Linked DNA regions of Homo sapiens: region 1 is linked to region 2. The links are contacts of gene promoters, found by promoter capture Hi-C in blood cells and fetal thymus (Javierre and others, 2016). All regions are on one chromosome and are shown on one strand. The core of a region is centred on a gene start or on the middle of the fragment in contact, and the rest is flanking DNA. Distances in the headings are between cores, read along the strand shown. Region 1 holds the start of NOSIP (nitric oxide synthase interacting protein). Region 2 holds the start of SIGLEC7 (sialic acid binding Ig like lectin 7).

What was found. Contacts are between HindIII fragments. The CHiCAGO score rates a contact against its expected background, and 5 or more counts as called.
Region 1: a contact is called between the fragment with the promoter of NOSIP here and the fragment with the promoter of SIGLEC7 in region 2, in 1 of 17 cell types (neutrophils). The highest score is 6.2, in neutrophils.

Annotation. Positions count from the first base shown.
Region 1 is chr19:49,579,268-49,583,194 of GRCh38, reverse strand. It overlaps NOSIP (nitric oxide synthase interacting protein), which reads left to right and starts at 2,639. Exons shown (of 9, transcript NM_001270960.2): 1 at 2,639-2,680. PRRG2 (proline rich and Gla domain 2) reads right to left here and starts at 1,879. Exons shown (of 7, transcript NM_000951.3): 1 at 1,714-1,879. The HindIII fragment of the contact is 25,862 bases long and covers 1-3,927 here.
Region 2 is chr19:51,140,521-51,144,706 of GRCh38, reverse strand. SIGLEC7 (sialic acid binding Ig like lectin 7) reads right to left here and starts at 2,406. Exons shown (of 7, transcript NM_014385.4): 1 at 1,905-2,406; 2 at 23-301. The coding sequence starts at 2,337. The HindIII fragment of the contact is 9,764 bases long and covers 1-4,186 here.

The sequences.
Region 1 (3,927 bases), core at 1,390-3,889, 1.6 Mb after region 2:
TTGTTACAGCTGACAAGGGCCTTAGTCCCTGGGTAATGAGGCAGTGCCTCTCTGACTGGCCTCTGTGGTCCACGAATGGCAATAATAGCAGCCACTTACACAGCCTGTATTCTGTGCCAGATACTGTTTACCTATATAAACTCATTTTACTTTTTTTTTTTTTTGACATGGAGTCTCGCTCTGTCAGCCAGGCTGGAGTGCAGTGGCACAGTCTCAGCTCACTGCAACCTCTGTGTCCTGGGTTCAAGCGATTCTCGTGCCTCAGCCTACCAAGTAGCTGGGATTACAGGCATGCGCCACCACACCCGCTAATTTTCTTTTTTTTTTGAGACAGAGTCTCGCTCTGTCACCCAGGCTAGAGTGCATTGGTGTGATCTCCGCTCACTGCACACTCCACCCCCCAGGTTCATGCCATTCTCCTGCCTCAGCCTCCCGAGTAGCTGGGACTACAGGTGCCGGCCACCATGCCCGGCTAATTTTTTTGTATTTTTAGTAGAGATGGGGTTTCACTGTGTTAGTCAGGATGGTCTCGATCTCCTGACCTCGTGATCTGCCCGCCTCAGCCTCCCAAAGTGAATTTTCATATTTTTAGTAGAGATGGGGTTTCACCATGTTGGCCAGGCTGGTCTTGAATTCCTGACCTCAAGTGATCTGCCTGCCTCAGCCTCCCAAAGTGCTGGTGCTGGGATTACAGGCGTGAGCCACTGTGCCCGGCCTCAACTCATTTTACTTTTCACAGGAGTCATACAAAAATTAGCCAGGCGTGGTTGTGGGCGCCTGTAATCCCAACTACTTGGGAGGCTGAGCCAGAATAATCACTTGAAAGGGGAGACAGAGGTTGCAGTGAGCCGAGACTGTGCCACTGCACTCCAGCCTGGGTGACAGAGCGAGATTCCATGTCAAAAACAAAACAAAACAAAACTTTTCACAGGAGTTTTTTTTTTTTTTTTTTTTTAGACAGAGTCTCGCTCTGTCACCCAGGCTGGAGTGCAGTGGCGCTATCTCAGCTCACTGTGACCTCTGCCTCCTGGGTTCAAGCGATTCTCCTGACTCAGCCTCCCGGGTAGTTGAGATTACAGGTGCGCACCACCACGCCTGGCTAATTTTTTGTATTTTTAGTAGAGATGGGGTTTCACCATGTTGGCCAGGCTGGTCTCAAACTCCTGACCTCAAGTGATCCACCCGCCTCGGCCTCCCAAAGTGCTGGGATTACAGGTGTGAGCCACTGCGCCCGACCAGGAGTCCTATTATTATCCCCAGTATAGAGAACAGGAAACTGAGGCACAGAGAGGTAATATAGCTTGCCGAAGGTCACACAGTGTGCAAGTGTGAGAGCCAGGATTTCAGTGAAGGCAGTGTCCGCCAGAGAAGAAAGCAAGGAGCAGGCAGCTTATCTTTCTTTCCCCACTGTGTCTACAGCACCTGACACAGATGCTTATAAACATGTCCACTGGTGATCTGGAGTCTTCCCTTCCTGGTAATTTCCACTTGTGCCTCTTTCTGTGCTCATTGTCACATCCACCCACAGACAACAAAGATTACGAGAGAGGCAGAGGCAGGGGATTAGTTATATTATTGGGTCTAGGGACCTAAGTGGGCAGGGGCCCTGGACTCCTGGGCCTAGGAGCCCCAAACTTCTGGGTCTCGGAGGGGCGGGGAGCCAGGATGCCTGGGTCCCCAAGCCAGGCTCTTCCTCCAGGGACATTCACTTACCTGCCCAGAAATGTGAGCACTGCCCCTTCCTCTTTAATCGAGAACTCCTTGGCCAGCTACAGCCAGCTGTGAAAGGGGACAGGGAAGAGGGGAGGGGATAAGGAGGAGGGGCGCCCCACTCCCGGTAACCAGGCCTGATCCCCGTTTCTGGCAGGTGGGCGGAACTTGCCATTACCTGCCCTGGGCGGGACTCAGGTAAGGGACAAAGTATTTAAAGGGACCTTGGGATAAAGGACTTAAAGGCCAGAGCTCCATGAGGAAGCCAAGGTGTCGAATACCATGGGATACCTGGGGGATTAGATTCGACCCTCCTCCTCCCTCCCGACCCCTACCCGCTCTGGCTCTCCCCTGGGAGTTCGTCTGTCCGAGCTAGAAAAATTAATATCTAGGTCTCTAGGTATCTAGAAACTAGCGGGAACGATATGCCTTAGTCCCTGGGACAGCTGGGCAGTGCCGCAGTAAATCCCTGTTTCCTGAGAGCGACTTGAACGGCTTTGATTTTCAATTTCCCAATGGCTCTGTCTGTAAAATGGGAGCGTAGTTGTCTCTTCTCAATTGTTTTAAGATGCAGCAAGAAAAGTGGATGATATATTTGGGAAAGTGGGCTTCCCGATCTCTAGGGGAAGTGATTAGTCCTTAAATTTGGGCTTGGAGAGACTCAAAACCTGGGAACCAAGCAGGAAAAAACGATCTCCCTGGGAAATGCCTCGTACATAGTAAGCGTTCCCCATATTCCCACCAGTTTCAATATCCGGAACTTTCGATTAGCTACTCACGTTTCCGGAGAGAGAAAGAGAAGAGAGGACTTGAGCAAGCCAGGCGAGGCACTTCCGCAACTAGGGGCAGCTCTACTTCCGGTGCCTTCTGCTGGGCGGAAGTGGGCGGAGCGGAGGGGGAAAATAGTGCTCCTTTCCGGTGTCGGGGCACAGTTGAAGAAGCGACCGAGGGACTGGGAGTCGTTAGTGAGGTGAGTTCGAGGCGGTGCAGGAAGAGTGTTGCTGGGATCGCTTTCCTGCGGGCTAGAGGCCTGGGGTCTTGAGGGAGACTGGGGCAAGATTTTGGATTCCCGATTCCCTGTCAATCATTATTAATACAGCTGTCCGGGCGCCCCAAGTTTGAAGCTGAACTACACTCTGCTGGAGGTGGCCAACCGTCCATCGGGCAGTTCTCTCTCTCTTTGTCTCTCTCTCTCACTATAAACTCAGTCAAGTGGTAGCTAGCATCGGCCAGTTCTCCTGAGAGTTACAGTTCTGCTGTAGATGATGGCTATTTGCTGGTGGTCCCAAGGGAAGGAGTGGACTGGGATTGCTGGGGGTCTAAGGAGTGGGAGTTGAGGAGGGAGAACTCCTTTCCTGGCCTCAGTTTCTCAGACTGTGGTGGGACGGCGGGCGATACTAGATTGTGCAGTCATCCATCGCCACCTTCTCTTCACCTTTTTGACAGCCCCTTCCCTTTCGGGGTTGGTGCAGGGATTCACGTTTTCTTGTGTGGAGCTTCGGGGTCAGGCAGTCATGGATTCCCATTCTGATTGTGCTGCTAATTCTGTGAACTTGGGGCTTGAACGGTCCTTGAGGCAGTTTGATGTTAATGTTTTCTTACGAAAATGTTCAAACTTATATAAAAGTGAGAGAAGAATACAGGAATTCCTGTCACCCAAATCACCAATGATTATTTTTGCCATACTTGCTGTATTTTTTTAAACTTAAAGAGATTAAAACAAATCGTAGGCATCATGACACTTAAGGATTGTCAAAAGACAAAATTGCAACACATTTAGTGAGAAGATCTTAATTGGCATTTATTCGTGAATCTACAATCAAACAACATCTAATTATGGAAAATAGCGTGAGTGTTCCGATGAGCTGAGCAGAGGTTGTTTTCAGAGACAAAGGGCTGAGAAAATCAGAAACGGAAAACAAAAAGCTAGTTGATTAAATTGATTAACTTGATTAAATTTCTAAGTTAAAGGTTAAAGTAGAGGGGACTTCCTTTATCAGGTGGGCTAAAACTGGGTTGTTTGGGGATTTGGCTATTATCTCTCTCCTGATATCTCAGAAGATCAGATATCAACTTAGTTTTGGCTTGGAAGCATGGAACTTTAGCATGAGTGTCTCCATTTTGGTTTGGTCTGTTGAACCTAGTGCAGGAGCTCAATCCAAACCAATGACCTTCTATAAATTTTATCTAACAGGGTGCGTGTGTAAAAACCAGAAA
Region 2 (4,186 bases), core at 1,157-3,656:
GGCGTCCTGGCTCAGCACTCACAGGACACATTGAGTTGGATGGTCCTGTTCGTGGTCACGCCGGCCCCAGGCAAGGTCACCTGACAGGTGAGGCTGGTGCCGTGGTGCTGGGGCTGTGGGATGAGGGTGAGCACTGAGGAGCGGGTGGTGGAGGGGTGCAGGGGGGACACAGAGGTCCCCATCCAGGAGATCATAGGGGGCGTCCCCTGCTCACAGGCCCAGGGCACAGAGCAGGTCAGATTCTGGAAGCAGCCAGACTCCAGGGTACCGGGGATAAGGATGTTGGGCCTGTGGGTCAAGGCTGGTGAAGAGAGGGGGACTCAGGATCAGGACAGAGGATCCATGGTACAGCCCTGGGGGAAGCTCAGGCTCTGGTTCAGCTTCTGCCCTGAGCCCAACTCGCTTCACCCTCAGCCCTCTCCCAGGGCAGGGGCCCCATCCCAGGCTTTCGCTGCCACCCCCATGACCTTTCCCTGTGGTGTCTCCTGGAGCCTGTGCCTTATCTGTCACATTCACAGAGAGCTGCTTCGTTTTGTAATTCCATCTTATCTGTCCTCTCTCCACCTGGAAGTAGTAGTTCCTCAAATCCCCCTTCCTGGCATCTCTGATGCTCAGGGAGCAGTTGTTGGTCTTCAGGTCCCCAAGGAGGTGGAATCGGCCCCGTGTCTCCTGCACTTTTCCATTTGGGATGTTTGTGGCCACTGGATTATTCCATTGTATATTGATCCCTTTCTTAAACCAGCATCCATGGACAGGGCTAGAGTCAGTTCAGTTGTAATAGGGTTAAAGGACACTGCAGGGCACAGAGACGCACTAGCCCTCCTGCACCATCACCAACTCCAGCACCTCCAGCCTGTATCTTGACAGTGGGGCCTGGGACGCTGTGGGGAAATGAGGCTCAGCCCAGCCCCGACTGTCCCTCTCTTCATTTGCCCACAAGAGAGGCAGCAGCATCTCTGAGACAGAGGGTTCCTGGGCTCCTTGTGTGAGCAGAGAAGTGGGAGGGAGAGGAGGGGCAGGGCTGTGGGACCCACAGGGGGCTGGAGAGGGGCTGGAGAGGAGCTGGAGACCTCAACCCAGCACGAAAGAGAAACTACAAACCCACATGCTATAGGAACTGGTTCCCTCTGCACAGAGTGAAGGAAACCCTGAAGCTCAGAGACCCTAGAGACCCACCCAGGGAGGAGAAGAGACCGTGTCCCACCTCCTACCTCCGGGCTTCCCTGGAGCACCAGGGCCTGCACCAGACACGTAGGTCCTGCCCTCCCGGCCTCTGGACCATCGTGGAGGTCCCTCCTGTCTTTTGAGCATCTAAATGTGGATCTCCGAGGACCTCAGGGCATGAGAGATGGAGGGGCCGTGTGCTGAGTCTCCCTGTCCAGGCTCAGGTGCCTCTGCTGCCCTTGGTTTGCGCCAGGAAGTGCTTCCTCCCTGGCCTGGCCTGAGAGAGTCACGGGGTTGTGTAGACCTAAGGCTCTCAACTGGGGAGGACTTAACCCCCCAGGACGTTTAACAATGTGTGGAGATAATTGTTATTGTCTCACTGCATGGGTGGAGTGGGTGCTTCTGGCATCTGGTGGGGAGAGGCCTGGGATGGTGCTAAACCCCGGCCATGCCTAGGACAGGCCCCAAAACAAGGAGTCATAAGGCCCCACATGCCACAATGCCAGCGTCAGAGGCAGGATGAGGATGTCAGGCCTGTGGGTCAGGGCTGGTGAGGGGAGGGGCCTGCAGGATCAGGAGGGGCATCCAAGGTGCGGTCCTGGGGAAGCTCAGGCTCTGGTCCAGCTCCTCTCCTGAGTCCATCACCCCCGGCCCCCTCCCAGGACATGTGTCCCGTCTCAGCCGTGCCCTAAAGCCCTCATCACATTTGCCTTTGGCCTCTCTTGGAGCCCGTGCCTTACCTGTCACGTTCACAGAGAGCTGGTCATATTTATAATTCCATTTTATATTTCCTTTCTCCATACGAAAGAAGTATCTCCCCGCATCACTCATTCTGGCATCTCTGATGCTCAGGGTGCAATTTTTGGTCTGTGGGTCCCCAAGGAGGTGGAATCGGTCCCGAGTTTCCTCCTGCACTGCCCAAGCTGGGTTGTTTGTGGCCACTGGAGCCTTCCAGCTTATATCATTCCCTGCCCGGAACCAGTAGCCATGAACTGGGTCAGAGTCAGTCTGGCTGTCCACTGGGTAGGAGAAGGAGCAGCGCACATGGACACACATGCCCTCTTGCACGGTCACGGAACTCTGCATCGTCAGCGAGTAATCCTTCCGGTTACTCTTCTGTCCTTCCACCCTCTCCCTCCCCCAGAGCAGGGGCAGCAGCAGCAGCAGCAGCATATCTGGGGTTGGAGGTGCCAGGGCCGCGAGGGAACGTCTGTTCCTCAGGGTTCTTCTCTCAGGAACTGCGGGCTCAAGACTTAGAAGAGGCCCTACAGGAAGTCGGTGGTGAGGTCAAAACAGTGACCTCCTTAGAAGAAGAACTTCACACACAGACACTGTCAGGGCTGGGTCAGCCCTGGGAGATCCACCGTCCACCACCCGACATTCACTCCTGGGTCCCTGAGGCCAGAGCGGGAGACAGACTCACCCAGATTCCCACCCCATGCAGGGCCCACCCCACCTCCTGCCTCCCTCTCAATGCCTTTCCCTTTAGGTGATATTTTCTGCAGGGTGAAAATAACTCCCATCTGCCCAGACCCCTGAGTCACAGGCTGTGGATGTCTGCGTAGCTCAGAAGTGGGACTCGGGGCCATGAGAGACAGGGGTGCAGGTGGGGTGAACAGGCAGCCTCTCATCCCTCCCTCAGCAGCCACGAGGTGGGCACCCCCTTTCTGCACAATGAGGTCAACACAGCAGAGCCGGACACTGTCCCCAAGGAGTCACTGTGTGGTGGGGAGACACTGAGTCTCCTGACGTTTGAGCTCCCCATGACAGGAGCTTCAGTGGGGGGCACAGGCAGGGTGGGGTCACTCTCCCCTAGGTCGGGGGTTCAGTCTCAGGAGGACCGAGCAGACGGACATGGGGCTGTGAAGGTGAGGATTGCGCCTGTTGATACACGCCAAGGACACGGAGGGGAGCCCAGCCTGCAGGAGGCCGGGGAAGCTGAGGCTGTGATTGTTGTATTGTGGGGCTTGGTAGACAGGAAAGTCATAAGGGAAAGGATCAATATGAAAAGAGCAGACACTATTCCCATCCTCACAGCTCTCTGAGCACAAGGACATTTCCCTTCACCACTGCTATCTCATGAGGCCTGGTTAGTGCAGAGTGTGAGGGGTCTGCTGGCCCTGGGGCTTTGCTCCTGCAGGAACTGCTCCTAGGGGTTCAGGTGAACAGGAGACGTGGAGCAAAGACACCAGCCCCGGGGCGTCCACCCTCAGTGATGGGCGCGATTTTCTGAGAGAAGAAACACGCACCTGACTTCAACAGAAGATTATTTTAAACTGTGTGACTGGGCTGGGAGGAAGTGGGAAAAATCCTGCAAGCTGCAGCCCCCTTAGATCCAGGCCAGCTTTTCTTGAAACAGTTTTTTTTGAGCGGGGAGAAACACAAGACATGTACATAAAAGTGTCCCCTAAAAACCAACTCAGTGATTCACACAAAATAAGCACCCTTGAAGAACTAGAACACAAAAGAACTGTCAAGTCTGTCCCTTGAAATGAAGAAAGAGATTTTATTAATTCATTCACCCTTACATTCCCCTTTCCTATTGGCCATGCCCCCGCTCCCTCCTGAAGGAGCCCCTAGCCTCACTTTAATGATAATAGTCTTCCTGCTGTTCTATGTAGTTTTATCATCGGCACATGCTGCCTTGAAAATTCTAACTTCACGTAGGTTTTCCTGAAGATGTTGTATACATAGAAAATCCCAGTCTGTTTTCTTCCATACAACTGCATTGATCTGCTCAGCCCACACTGTCCCCTAATTGTCCATAACCTAGAGATCATTTGGCTGTAACGATTGAGAGAGGAAGATGCTGGGTTTGGGCGTCCGAAGCCACTCCCCGCCCTCACCTCCAATCCCTGCATTTGCAGCTAGTATCTCATCCTGCAGACCAATCTGCCTCCTGGGCGCCTCCTCCTTGCCCAGCCACTCTCTCCCCATAAGGATATTTGCAGTATCTCAGTGGGCAGAAGTGTTACCGGATGGTGCCATGCAGTTCCAGGCTCTTGGTGTCTTAAACAAAGAA